2 separate regions of the Homo sapiens genome follow, and region 2 is linked to region 1. Evidence: promoter capture Hi-C in 16 types of primary human blood cells and fetal thymus (Javierre and others, 2016). All regions are on one chromosome and are shown on one strand. Each heading gives the region's core, a stretch centred on a gene start or on the middle of the fragment in contact. The rest is flanking DNA. Distances are from core to core; before and after follow the strand shown.

Region 1 (4,270 bases), core at 1-2,500:
CTGTGCCCGCGGGCTGGTGGGGGAGTGGAGGTGGACCAGCAACACAGCCTGCAGCAGGTGGAAGGTGGCGGTTCCTGCACATACTCGGTACACAGCCCCAGAGCCACTGAGCACTGGACAGTCAGAGAGGCCAAACAGGTGGGCACACAACCCCGAGGGCATCTGGATCTGGGAGTGTGTGTGAGAGAAATGGCAGGACAAGTCATAATGCATGGAAAGGTACCTACTTGTCACGGGTATGACCACTCATTTGTCTCCTGCCCCCAACCGAAACCTTTTCTATCTTAGGGTTTTTCCTTTTATCTCTTCCCACCTGACAACCCGACCCCCTCTCACTTACCCTGTGTGTCTTGCCCCACACCCTTTCCACTACTGTCCTTGACAGCAGGAGGCAGCAGATTGCTGAGGCCCCCACATGGAGGAGGATGTAGAACAGGCGGCTGCAAGTGGATGCGGTGAGAGAGGGCCACCTAGAGTGGCAGCAGCTGGCACAAGGAGCAGGCCCACAGCAGCACACCTGGGAGTAGAGCAGATGCAAGGCAGCGAGGTGGAGACTTGCTGAGGAAAGGCATACGTTAATGTATGTGTGAGGTTAACCCAGGAGGTTGAATTCCAAAATTTCCCCTTCCCCTTTCTTCCTTTTACTCAGGTTCTGTTTCAAGCTGATTCCAGCCATTTGGGATTGCCGCCCACTGACAACTTAGTAGGGCTTTCATTATAAGCAGGCTTGAGATATCTGACCTTTCTCTCGACCTAAACACCTGGGGCTGGAAACATGGCGGGAGAGATTTACAGATTATACCTGGGGCAACGAACCAGAACGACATTAGAGGAGAAAAGAGGCCTGTCGTTTTTATTGGCTTCTGCACGTCTTCCTCCCCAGCTTCGGCCACTCTCCCCTTCGCACCCTCTCACCTGACAGAAGGGACTTTTCACTAGGACACTGCTGCCTCCGCTGTGCTGCTGTGCCAGGCCCAGGGAGGTGCCGGGGCTGGGGCCGGCCTTGGCACCCACCATCCTTGTCCCAGGGATTAGGCTTAGGTCCACCAGATGGAAGGCAGATGAGAGCAGCAGTTGCTTCTGTCCTCAGCCCATTGGACTGCCACTGTGTTGGGGCTGAGCACCCGGTCCCGGGCAGAATGGAGACGTCCGGAAGAGAACACTGACCTCCAGGTTGCGGTAAATGCAAATGCCCTGTGAAGGAGCTTTGTCCTTAGGGCCTCAACACTGCGGCCACTCAGGCTGTTCTCTCCAGATTAGGGGGCAGTTTGTCTATCTGGCCCCCTGTGGATTAGCATTCTTTATTGGTTTAGGATTAGACGTCATTCAGGTTGAACGGAGTTCCCTGAGGTGGGTGGGTGCGTGTTTATGTGTTGAGGGGACTATTCCTAGTTTATGAGGTGGTTAAGGATATCGGTGGGGTGGGCTGGAGCGGTGTCGGGTTAGGTCTGAGAGAAGGCCTCGCACAAAACACTGTACAAACCCGAAAGGAAGTCTGAGAGACGAACCGCCTTCCTCCCTGAAGCTTCTAGAACTGGAGCAGAAAGAAGGTGTGGCCCAGGGCCAGCCCCGCCTCCTCCCCGGGCGGAAGCTGTGTCAGTTGCCGGAAGTCGGCGTGAGGTGGGGCTTATGCGGCGGCGTGGTGAAATAGATATGGCGACCGAGGGGGATGTGGAGCTGGAGTTGGAGACTGAGACCAGTGGACCAGAGCGGCCTCCGGAGAAGCCACGGAAACATGACAGCGGTGCGGCGGACTTGGAGCGGGTCACCGACTATGCAGAGGAGAAGGAGATCCAGAGTTCCAATCTGGAGACGGTAAGGTTGGCCAAGAGCATGTCGGGGCGGGCTGAGAGCAGAGGGGGGCTCTGAGGCTGTAGCTGGAAGCCAGCGCTCCAAGACGGGGTTCTGATCCCGTTGGCAGGAGGAGGCAATAGGGTAGAGCCGAGGGAAACAGCGGTCACCGGAGCGCGCCGCTTGCCTAAAGGAGCTTGATAGTGGGCTTAAGGGGACCTCAGGTGCATAGAATGGAATTAAACATAGTCCTTGCTACCTGGTAACACTTGTCATCGTGAATCCATGCATGAACCGCTTGTTTTGTTGGCCTTTTAGATTATTGGGAATTGTGGGTAGCGGTGCAGTAACTAGACCTGCCTTTCCCATAGGCCATGTCTGTGATTGGAGACAGAAGGTCCCGGGAGCAGAAAGCCAAACAGGAGCGGTAAGTCTTCAGGGGCAGCCAACTTTAACAGTTCTTCCCTCCCCGGTCCCCAGACAAAAATAAAAACCATTATTAAGCCTTTATACCGTTCTTCAAATTTATCACCAATTCCTGCAGATCTAGGCGCCACAACTTTACTCTTGTTAGCAGAAGGCCTCCTGGCAACACCTGCTGCCAAGACTCCAGGGGAAAGGAGTATTAGTGGGAGTTTTTATTTTCAATCAAGGGTTTATCAAGATTTATTTACAGGGCACTTCTGGGAATGACCCTTCCTGGGAGTTTATGGTGTTGGTTGAGAATGAGGACTAATATATTTAAATATTTTTGCAGGGAGAAAGAACTGGCAAAAGTCACTATCAAGAAGGAAGATCTGGAGCTAATAGTGAGTGGTAGTGCCTAACTAGTGTATGCGGAGGGGAGGCTATTCTGCTTAATTTGGGTTGTTTCCTGAAACAAGCGGAGTCAGTATATTTGGTGGCACATTAATGCCTGGGAACCTATGTAACATGATTTTTTTCTGCAGATGACTGAGATGGAGATATCTCGAGCAGCAGCAGAACGCAGTTTGCGGGAACACATGGGCAACGTGGTAGAGGCGCTTATTGCCCTAACCAACTGATGCGTGCTTTCTCAAATATACCTACTGGATTAATTTATGGCAATAAAATTTTTTTTTGTCTTTTTCAGTTTTATCATCTTGGGTCAAGTAGAGTGTATACTATATCCTATGTTGTGGAGAATTTATATGTTGGAGACTAACTGAATTTAAGTGACCCATTAAAATCTAGCACACCTGTATGAAAAATCAGTGTAGAAGAATACCTCATGTGCAGATGCTAGGTGGCAGGCCAGTCTCATTCATCTGACTAGCTCTCAACAGTATTCAAGGTACATCTGGAGTCTCAGCAGAGTTACTGTACTCAAATGGCATGTGTCTCCAAGACAGCTTATGAATATCTAAAAGGCCAGCTACCTGCCTAGGAGCCACTATATATATAGATAGATGTAGGTTATGAACCCAGTTCATAGGCCACCTTGAGTTAGAATTTTGGTACCTACAACATGCTTGATTTTGAGTGATTAAAAAAAAATAATTTGGCTGGGTGCTGTGGCTCACACCTCTAATCCCAGCACTTTGGGAGGTCGAGGCAGGTAGATCACGAGGTCAGGAATTCAAGACCAGCCTGGCCAACATGTGAAACCCCGTCTCCACTGAAAATAGAAAAATTAGCTGGGCATGGTGGTGGGCGCCTATAATCCCAGCTATTCTGGAGGCTGAGGCAGGAATCGCTTGAAATTGGAAAGCAGAGGTTGCAGTGAGCTGAGATCACACTACTGTACTACTGTACTCCAGCCTGGGGGAAAGAGTGAAACTCCATCTCAAAAAAAAAAAAAAAAAAAAAAGCCCGGGCACAGTGGCTCACACCTGTAATCCCAGCACTTTGGGAGGCTGAGGCAGTCGGATCATGAGGTCAGGAGTTGAAGACAAGCCTGGCCAACATGGTGAAACCCTGTCTCTACTAAAAATACAAAAAAAATAAAATTAGCCAGGCGTGGTGGTGCATGCCTGTAGTCCCAGCTACTCAGGAGGCTGAAGCAGAAGAATTGCTTGAACCAGGGAGGCGGAAGTTGCAGTGAGCTGAGATTGTGCCACTGTACTCCAGCCTGGGTGACAGAGCGAGACTGTCTCAAAAACAAAACAACAAAAAAGAATTTAGGGGCCAGGCATGGTGGCTCATGCCTGTAATCCCAACACCTTGGGAAGCTGAGGCAAGACGATCACTTGAGCCCAGCAGTTTGAGACCAGCTTGGGCAACACAGTGAGATTTCGTCTCTACCGCGCTCCCCCCACCACCAAAAAAAGAATTTAGGTACCTGAGGGTTAGAACATGGTAAGACTAGAAGATATCAAAGGTTGGGCCAGGTGTGGTGACTCATGCCTGTAACCCCAGCACTTTGGGGAGGCTGGGCTGGGAGGACTGTGTCAGGTCAGGATTTCCAGACCAGCCTGGGCAACATAGCATGACCTTGTCTCTACTAAAATTAAAAAAA
Region 2 (4,270 bases), core at 545-3,044, 370 kb before region 1:
TTTTACTATGGTAAAATCTGCATAACATAAAATATATCATTGTCTTGAACACAATGCTCATATCCCATATGTGCCACAGGTGTTCAATAAATAAGAACTGTATTTTATTTTTACAAAACAAACAACTTGGACAATCAAAATGAGAGGTATATCAATAATGAAGATTTCCTAAGTAGATCCCAAATGAAGATAATCTACCACAGCAACTGAAAAAGCAATTTGACCACTACAATATCTCCTTTATCTGAGGGAGATATGTGCCAAGACCCCCAGTGGATGCCTGAAACTGCAGATAATATCAAACCCTATACACTATGTTTCTTCCTATACATACAGACCTATAATGTTTATAAATCAGGCACAGAAAGATTAATAACTAATAATAAGATAAACTATAACAATATACTGTTCACAATTTCATGGATAGATTTGTTCTTACCACAGATTTTAGTAACTTCAGCATATGATTTTTTTTCTTTCCTTATTAAGACCTTTTACCTTTTCACTTAGAGGAAGCACTTTATGACTTACTTCTCTGGCATATTCAGATTGCCGGCATCACTACTCTCAAACTTTGGGGTGAGAGTAAAACAAGGGTTACTTGAATGCAAGCAATGCAATACCATGAGAGTTGATCTGATAACCAAGACAGCTACTAAGTCATTAACAGGCAGGGAGCATATATAGCATATGGATATGCTAGAAAAAGGGAGGATTCATATCCTAGCCAGGACTAAGAGGGACAGCACTTTATCACATTACTCAGAACAGCACAGTATTTAAACCTTAGTATTTCTAGAATTTTCCATTTAGTATTTCTGGACTGCAGCTGACCATGGGCAACTAAAACCACCAAGAAAAAGAAACCACTGATAAGCAGAGACTACTGTTTACTAGTAACTTCCAAATTTTCTCTGCCATAGATCCCACTCTGCCACTCAATGAAATGTTGTGAACTTCTACGTATTTGTTAACACATACATTTCTACGACTTCTTTTCATCTACTCAATTTTTTTTTTAAGAGACAAGGTCTCACTATGTTGCCCAGTCTAGTCTCAAACTCCTGGGCTCAAGTAATCCTCCCACCTGAGCCTCCAAAAGCGCTGGGATTTCAGGCATGTGCCACCAGGCACAGCCACCTACTTAATTTTTACTAGTACCGACACTTCCCTACTCTATTCCCTGGAACCTGATACTCCTCCAGCCTCGTTTTCATCAGCCCCAATCCTTTTCTTCACATTAGCTTCTAGTCTAGCCTCTCTTCTGCAGTTCTTGGTCACCTGGGGACTTTTCCCCATCTCTCTCTCTATTCCTGTTACCATTCTTTCTGTTTCATATACTGAAATACACTATTCTTCGTGCTGCTTCTTTCCCCCTTACCTTCTACTCTCTGAATTCCTGAGAACCATGATGAAATAGACTTAAGGGAGAGAAAATTAGATCTGATGGTTAGAAGGCAAGATAAAAAGTATGGAGAAGGAAAAGAGTGAATGTAGAAGAGTATTACAGGACCCAGGCAGAATCTCTGGCTTTCTTCTCCAGTAAAGACCTACCTAAAAAACTGTAGCAATACTACATTTTCCCTAAAAGACTATCTAATGGCTATAGCTACCCACAATTTCACTACCATATCTGTATCTTAGAAAAGTTGTTTTTGTCTTTTAACCACTGTTCTGTACAAAACTGTCAAGAATTGTCATTAGGCAGACATGCCACAACTTAAATTCTCTGAGAATCCTGAAAGTTAAAAACAAGGCCTCTGATGCACCCTAGTATGTTCTCTCACCTGGCTATGGAGCGACTCTGTATCATCCCCAGGAGCACTGACTGGTTTCTCACCACTCCCCCTCTCAGTCTGAACTGTGGCATCTTGCTTTCCAAAGTTCTGGTCCACTGTACTGGTCCCCTGCTCACACACATTCTTTATAGTCTGGGTTGCTGCTGAAACAGTTTCTGGGACCCTCAAGGAACACTCCATGGTTTGGATTCCTATGTTATTTTGGCTGGGCCTTTCAATCAAGGCCTTACTAGGATTTTCCTTATTAGTACTCCGTCCTTCTTTCTGGTCTTCTAGCACATCTGTCACCATTGCCTCTCCTTGAGGACTGGATGGCCCTTGTATGACCATCTTCTGGGAAGCAGGAGAAACAGGGTCCTTGACAGGACTAATGGGCTTCATAGGCTGTTGACTCTGCCTGATTGTATGGTCACCCTCCAATTTTTCTTTCTCCTCTTCTCCTTGAGAACTTGGAAAGTGGAGCAAGTTCCCCCTGAAAATGCAACATATAAAGAAGCCATGTCAATTAAGCAAGTGTATGTGTGAACGTGTGTGTGTGCGTGTGCATGTGTGTGTGTAGTGGCAAGGGGGGAGCCATATTTTGACAATTTGAGAAATGTAAGGAAGGGAGAAAGTCAGGTAGTCAAGCATTATCACCTTGGGAGGCCTCTCATTATAATTTCACTCCTGTAAAAAAAATAATGGTAGATAGAACAATTCCACCATGATGATAAAAGAGTCATAAAATTTCTTCCCATCACTAGCTATGAACTCTGAAACTTGATGCAGGAAAATGAAGTAAACAAAAAGATGTAAACCCATTACTGAAGTCATAGACAATGAAGGGCAACTTAGGGATCTATTTTGAAAAAAGATCAATTAAGTCAAGATGTCTTATCTGGCCTTATGATGGTTCTAACATTCCTTAACTGATTCCTAGCATTCTAGATACTGTTTATCCCCACCTGAGCAATATTTTTAGGAAAGAAAATCTGACTTACAAAGGATAAAGCTGTAGGTAGATTCTAGTTTTGTCAGCTATACTGATATATCTACAACTAAACATTTCAGAATGAATTGGTTTCTCAAAGACAGTTCTTAAGATACAGCCCATTTTTTTTCATAAGTCATCCCATTTGGGTATCAGTGATTCGTTCCTTTATTCCACAAGCATTTGCTGAATGTCTCCTACAAACCACATACCACGATTTCCGAAGTGACTAGGAGCTTTCTTAAATATCCCTAACAATTCTCCAGAATAAAAACGTCCAGGCTAACTCCAAGTCAACAGAAATTTGACATTCATGTCTTATCTATCTTTATATTTAAAACACCTAACTCACAGCTTAATATAAAATAGATGCTTAATACATGTACTTTGAACAGAAGACTGAATGTTCTCTGAATCAATTAATTGCAAAATCTACTCAGATTAAATCAACATAATGCAGTTTTAGGCTCCATTACACGCACAATAGCCAGAATAAAAATAAAAGGAATCCATTCTGAACTGACCATGCTAAGACCACATCTGGAATATCTGTTTCAGTTCTCGGCATGACAGTTTACAAGGCATAAACTGTAGATAAACTCAGAAGGTAACATGAAGGACGATAAGGGGCCTAGAAACTATGTCATATGTTGATTTAAGTATGTGGCCAGAAAAAGAGTTAGGGCTGTCTCCTATTTGACAGAAGCTCTTATCCTTAGGATCTCAGCTTTCCTACGTAGACAGGGTAAAGGAAGCAGGAAGTGCTCTTCAGGGATTGCTCTGCTCTAGATCTTGAAGGAAAAGGAAAAAAGAAGTTTCTGAGGTTTCTATATTGTTTAGCTCAGCCTACCAGAACAGGAGCTCAAAGAGGGATTTCAAATAGAGTTCTAGCCAAGAAGAGCTTAGTATAAATTTGGTTGTTATAGTGTGTGTCCTATCTCTCAGGAACCTCAACTGAATGAGAATATATGGTCCAATGAAGAAGAAGTAAGAACAAGACCACCAGGAGACACCTACCATGAGTAGCACTTACCTCTTATGAGGTTTATAAATGTTCATATATGTAAAATATTGAGCATAGCAGATGCTCAATCAATATTAGATGCATAAGACAATGCAATTAAACAGACTCAGTTCACCTTCAATATCAACTAAATATTCATATTTAAATCTTTAAGACATCTAACATACCAATGGCTGAGCAAGAAGGAAAGGATTCAAAAGCCAGAAGAGCCAGGACTCGATTTTAGGAATTCAATTATTGTTGTTTCCTATCCTAAACAAGCTTATAAATTTTATCTCATGCTACAGACTAAATGTCTATGTCCCCTCCACCCCAAGACTTACATTAAATCCTAACCACCAAGGTGATGGTATTAAGAGGCAGAGCCCTCATGAATAGGGTTAGTGCCCTTATAAAAGAGACCTCAGAGAGCTCTCTTGCCCCCAACTGCCATGTGAGAACAGCTGTCTACAAACCAGGAAGCAGGCCCTCACCAGA

What was found. Contacts are between HindIII fragments. The CHiCAGO score rates a contact against its expected background, and 5 or more counts as called.
Region 2: a fragment that was not itself captured here is called in contact with the fragment with the promoter of SERINC4 in region 1 in 1 of 17 cell types (megakaryocytes); the score reaches 6.6 in megakaryocytes.

What each region holds. Positions count from the first base shown.
Region 1 is chr15:43,798,970-43,803,239 of GRCh38, forward strand. SERINC4 (serine incorporator 4) reads right to left here and starts at 1,251. Exons shown (of 12, transcript NM_001258031.2): 1 at 916-1,251; 2 at 341-517; 3 at 1-168. The coding sequence starts at 1,017. HYPK (huntingtin interacting protein K) reads left to right here and starts at 1,630. Exons shown (of 4, transcript NM_016400.4): 1 at 1,630-1,815; 2 at 2,163-2,218; 3 at 2,549-2,600; 4 at 2,742-4,270. The coding sequence starts at 1,654. The coding sequence ends at 2,837. It overlaps SERF2-C15ORF63 (SERF2-C15orf63 readthrough), which reads left to right. Exons shown (of 6, transcript NR_037673.1): 3 at 1,526-1,815; 4 at 2,163-2,218; 5 at 2,549-2,600; 6 at 2,742-3,620. RefSeq lists enhancers at 348-1,048, 1,049-1,749, 1,657-1,906. The HindIII fragment of the contact is 2,702 bases long and covers 1-1,523 here.
Region 2 is chr15:43,430,407-43,434,676 of GRCh38, forward strand. It overlaps TP53BP1 (tumor protein p53 binding protein 1), which reads right to left. Exons shown (of 28, transcript NM_001141980.3): 17 at 1,788-2,271. Among named protein-coding and RNA genes, the nearest start is that of TP53BP1, 61 kb to the right of the region's middle. The HindIII fragment of the contact is 4,515 bases long and covers 1-4,052 here.